Linked DNA regions of Homo sapiens: region 1 is linked to region 2. The links are contacts of gene promoters, found by promoter capture Hi-C in blood cells and fetal thymus (Javierre and others, 2016). All regions are on one chromosome and are shown on one strand. Each heading gives the region's core, a stretch centred on a gene start or on the middle of the fragment in contact. The rest is flanking DNA. Distances are from core to core; before and after follow the strand shown. Region 1 overlaps CNST (consortin, connexin sorting protein). Region 2 holds the start of COX20 (cytochrome c oxidase assembly factor COX20).

Region 1 (2,700 bases), core at 75-2,574, 1.7 Mb after region 2:
GGCCTCTTGGTTGGTTATAGTTTCGTGCATTCTGATGCCTGCGGGCTTTTTATCCTTCCTGTCTCCACTGCATAGCTGGGGAAAACCTAGGGATTGCCCGGTGAATGCCAACAGAGCTTTAACCTGTGTGTCCATGGCTTGCCTTCCCTGAAGCCTCAAAGAGAACAGCTGCGAGTGCAAAAACCTTATGAGCAAAATTTCTGCTCCAGGAACACTTATCTGGGCTGAGGAAACATATTCTAAGAATATCTGTTTTGTAACTAAAGCTTCCATGTACTTGTGTAACGCTTTGTGTAAAACCACGTACTTTGTATAGCCTTTGCTGGAGAGTTTCCATTTTCCTCCAGCTCTTCAGTGTAAGTGAAAAAATGTGCCCAGAATGTCTCTATAGATTATTCTGCCTTCCCTCACCTTTTAGTTTTTTCCATGGAAAGCTGACAGGTCAGAATAGGCATATTTTATTAGAAACTCGAAGTGGTGGGGGGTAGAAGTACACATCTTTGCCTCTTTTTTCCTTCTTGATTACAGAAGTAATAATGCTCCAAAGATGTTTTTTAATAAAACTGAGTCTCGCTCTGTTGCCCAGGCTGGAGTGCAGTGGCGTGATCTCAGCTCACTGCAAGCTCCACTACTCCTGGGTTCACGCCATTCTCCCGCCTCAGCCTCCGGAGTGGCTGGGACTACAGGCACCCGCCACCGCGCCCGGCTAATTTTTTGTATTTTTATTAGAGACGGGATTTCACCGTGTTAGCCAGGATGGTCTCGATCTCCTTACCTTGTGATCCGCCCGCCTCGGCCTCCCAAAGTGTTGGGATTACAGGCGTGAGCCACCGCTCCCAGCCGCTCCAAAGATTTTTTAAAAAGATAAATAAATTTTAACTTGAGGAAAACATGGTTATTCAAAAATTCGTGTTTTTTCTTTTTCTTTAAAAAAAATTTTTTTTAGAGACAGCTTGTCGCACTATCACCCAGGTTGCCATGCAGTGGCAAGATTATAGCTCCGTGCAGCCTCAAACTCCTGGACTCAAGCAATCCTCCCACTTCAGCCTCCCTAGTAGCTGGGACTGCAGGTATGCAGTCTAATTTTTTTTTTTTAACTTTTTGCAGAGATAGGGCCTCCCTGTGTTGCCCCAGCTGGTCTAGAACTCCTGGCCTCCTCCAGGAGCGATCCTCCAGCCTTGGCCTCCCAAAGCACAATACGTGTATTTTTCAGAGGGAATTCTCAACTTTCATCAGATTTTTCAAGGAATATGTTACTCAAAAAAGGACAACAACCACAGCATCAGTTTGACTTGGTTGGTTATTGCATGTCCTTCCTAAATCTCTCTTATAAGCAGCTATGGCTTTATAAGGATTCCTATGTAAAAGCATCATTTTTAGTAGTATTTTATTTAAAACAAAAATAATTTAATAGATTATGAAGGAAAGTCATAGTGAGTCAAAGAACAAATCTGAACAAATCTTCCTCAAGTATTTTATTTATTTATTTATTTATTTATTTATTTATTTATTTTTGAGACAGAGTCTCACTCTGTTGCCCAGGCTGGAGTGCAGTGGCACGATCTTGGCTCACTGCAGCCTCCACCTCCCGGGTTCAAGTGATTCTCGCCTCAGCCTCCCGAGTAGCTGGGATTACAGGCACCCGCCGCCAAGCCTGGCTAATTTTTGTATTTTCAGTAGAGACGGGGTTTCATCATGTTGGCCAGGCTGGTCTTGAACTCCTGACCTCCTGACCTTTTGTCAAGTGTTCAGACAAAAACGTGCACAAATGTTTATAACAGCATTATTCACAGGAGTCAAAAAGTAGAAACAGCCCAAATGTCCATCAACTGATGAATAGATAAATAAAAGGTGGTATATCTGTACAGTGGAAGATTCTTTGGCAATAAAAAGAAATGAAGTATCAGTATATAGTACAACATGGATACCCCTTGAAAACATGCTGAGTGAAAGAAGCTAATTGCAATAGACCGCATATTGTATAATTCCATTTACGTGAAATGTCCAGAATATGTAAATCTATAGAGACAGAAAGTACATGAGTGGTTTGAGTGATTGCCTGGGGCTGTGGTGGGGGTGCAGGAGAATGGGAAATCACTGCTAGTGGGTATGTAGGGCAGGGGGGATCTTTTCGGGGTGATAAGATGTTCTAGAATTGATTGTGTACAATTTGTGAATACTAAAAGCTATTGAATTGTGCATTTTAAGTGGGTGAATTGTATGGTATATGAATTATATGTCGATAAAGGTGTCATGAAACTCAACTAGAAAAAATACAAGTTTATCATAGAAAATATGTAAAATACAGAGAAGTGGAAGAGGAAAAAAGTAATTAGCATTTTTAAAAATTCCCTATTTTTATTTCAATGATAAAAAATAATATAAGCTTATTCAAGAACAATACTGACACTTTAAAACAACATTCTCATATAAGATTTCAGTGCTCTCTGGGCGCGGTGGCTCGCGCCTGTAACGCCTGTAATCCCAGCACTTTGGGAGGCCGAGGCGAGCAGATCACTTGAGGTCAGGAATTCAAGACCAGCCTGGCCAACATGGTGAAACCGTGTCCCTACTAAAAATGCAAAAATTAGCCAGGCATGGTGGCGGGCGCCTGTAATCCCAGATACTCTGGAGGCTGAGGCAGGAGAATTGGTTGAACCCGGGAGGTGGAGCTTGCAGTGAGCCGAAATGGCGCCATTG
Region 2 (2,700 bases), core at 122-2,621:
TAACTACAATTTCAAAAACAAAAACAAAAAAACCCCCCCCGCCCCCGCAAAAAAAAACCTCAAAAAAAAAAATGTGACACATAAATACACAACCTTAACTGTGTATTTTACTGGGATTGTAGAAAGGTATCAAATGGGCATGCAAGTAAGGTCCTTACGGAGTAAGAAAACGCCCAATGAACAGTACTTAATATGAATTCGACATCGTTAACACTGAGCGCTTGCTGTGTGCCAGCGCGCAGCATAATTCGAAGCAGCATGACTTTGCACAATGACATATTCTACAAGTCCAGTTTCCTAAGGAGTGCCCTTAGGTTACATATAACCTAAACGTGAAATGTAGAAGTACATAAAGGAGGCATAAAGTTAAAGGGGAAAAATTATAAATACTAGAAAAAATTGCATTGTATTATTTTGATGGCTGAAAAATGGGCTCGACCCTGCATGCACGCGTTCTCCATTGAGCTCGACAATATGCAGTATTTTGTTTCACGTTATGTCGCAGTCTTAGGGAGGAGTGAAACGTGGAACACGACTTCACATCAAAAATGCACGTTGCAGAGGCATTTTTCCTTCGGGGACGCCGGAAGACTTCGCCACACGCGCGCCCTCTCCGCGGACACCAACGTGCTGACGCATGTTCATTAGCGAGCTGCTCCCTCCATTTTGTCCCCAGTCTCCTTTAGGCGAACTGCGCGGTTCTATGTTAAAGCCACTTAGTAATGAAACTATAAAAGGGAGGAAGTGGGGTGGGCGTGGGAGCCCCGTTTGCGCAAGGCAGGCGCGGGGGACTAAATGGCTGCTGGTGCAGAGTGGGGCTGCCCCGGCACCAAGGGCTCGTCCCGTGGCCGGAAGGACAAAGGACACTTAGGGGACGAGGGCCGCCGAGCCAGCGCGGAGCGCCTTCCGGGTCGGTGGGCTGGGGCGGGCTGGGGGCTGGGGCCGGGCCGACCCCCGCGGTGGGGCCCACCCCGCAGGACAAAGCAGCGGCCCCGCCCCTCGGCGCGCGCCCGAGGCTCGTGCGTGTGAGCACGCGCGCCGGAGACGGTTAGAAATGGCGGTTGGGGCGGAGCAGGGGGCTGGCGCGGGAAGCGGGGCTGTCTGGCTCGGTTACGCCCCCACCTCGCCAGGAATCTAGGAGTCGGTTTGTTTTCCGAACCCATCTCCTTCCGCTCTCCCGCCCCTGCAGGCTGTGTGCCGAGCTTGGAAGAAAGTGTGACCCGTTCGACGGAACAAAGGACATGACAGCCCGGCCCCGTGCGGCCACTGCGGAGCGTTAGGAACATTCCCTAAAATGGCGGCCGGCGCGTCGGAACAGGGCGGGAGGCGGCGGCGCGTGGGGGCGGGACGGGGAGGGGCGCGGCCAGCCGGGCTTCTGCTTCCGCGACCCCGGCGGTGCAGGGCGGGTGGAGTCGCGGAGTAGTCCTCATGGCCGCCCCGCCGGAGCCCGGTGAGCCCGAGGAGAGGAAGGTAACCTGGGGGTCGGCGGGGCGCGCGCCGCGGGTGGGCGGTGGGTAAGGACGTTCTCCGCGGAGCTCCTAGGCCCGGAGCACGTGTCACTGGCTTCTCTGCCACCCATGGGCTTGAAACTATTTTAACTGTTCCTAGTCCTTATCCCAAGCCTCCAACATTTTAATCTAAGTGGCCGGGACAAAATTGACCAAAACTAGGGGGAGGAGGGGACCAGTAGTACTAATGACTTACTACAGGTCATTATGAAATAAGCTAACAATACTGAATCTTTGGCGAGAAAATTTTGCTGCTAAGGGCACTGCACTGTAATTTGTTAGTAAAGGCTAATAGTAGAGATTAAAGCTCCGTTGAGGACAGGTGCCTTGTCTTTAACACGTTGTATTCATCACATTTAACATAGGAGTAATTGCTGAGGGATGACTTGATTGTACTACGATGAGATGAAGGGTTAAGATTTCTTCCCCATCACCAGTAGCCTCCCTAGCTGGTGTCCCTGTCTCCATACTCTCCTGAATCCACCTTCCACTATTGTCCGCTGGCCCTTTCCAGCCTGTAAACTGGACAGTTTTCATTCCTCTGCCTAACATCCAGTCGTAGCAGCCCATCCTATCTCTTTAAGGATAAAACCCAAATTCTTGGTATAGTAAAGCTAAACCAAGCGCTCTCCCTGGAAGGGCTCCTGTGTTTCACCAAAGCTGACTTACGTACTTTCCCCATCTTCCCAGGCATCTTGTACGTCGTTACATTTATCATATTGGAAGGTAATAAATGATCTTGTTTTCCTCTTTTCCTGGGCTCCTTATTAAGAGCAGGGAACCTAATTTATATCCTCAGGGCAGAACAGGTATTCAGAAAAGAATAATGCAAGAGGAAAAAAGTTTAATATAAACTAGGGAGATCGTAACATTGGCTAATCACGAGCAAATATTTATAGAAGACCCACTGTGTGCTAAATGGCTCCTAATATATACTTAAGATATTCTCCCAGCTTGGAAATTCTGCTCACTTCTTGCTCTTGCTTGCTTCTCTGGTGGGCTTCCATCCAAATTTGGCCATGACATCAGATCATATGGTTAATATTAACAAATATTGTATAAATTGTTTTCATACTTAATATCCAACAGGTTGTCAGTTTACGTACTACTGGTGCCTTATCTGTTTTTACTGTCCCATACACTGCCCATCTGGAATAAGCTTAGTGTTTAAAAAAAAAAAAAGATCTTTGCA

Evidence for each region. The method cuts DNA at HindIII sites, captures the fragments that hold promoters and counts their contacts. A CHiCAGO score of 5 or more calls a contact.
Region 1: a fragment that was not itself captured here is called in contact with the fragment with the promoter of COX20 in region 2 in 1 of 17 cell types (total CD4 T cells); the score reaches 5.6 in total CD4 T cells.

The regions. Positions count from the first base shown.
Region 1 is chr1:246,573,499-246,576,198 of GRCh38, forward strand. All of the region lies in intron 1 of CNST (consortin, connexin sorting protein), which reads left to right. Among named protein-coding and RNA genes, the nearest start is that of CNST, 8.4 kb to the left of the region's middle. The HindIII fragment of the contact is 2,120 bases long and covers 265-2,384 here.
Region 2 is chr1:244,834,287-244,836,986 of GRCh38, forward strand. It overlaps COX20 (cytochrome c oxidase assembly factor COX20), which reads left to right and starts at 1,372. Exons shown (of 4, transcript NM_198076.6): 1 at 1,372-1,470. The coding sequence starts at 1,429. RefSeq lists enhancers at 1-42, 546-605, 1,146-1,265 and silencers at 766-1,105, 1,346-1,395, 1,436-1,725. The HindIII fragment of the contact is 7,018 bases long and covers 1-2,665 here.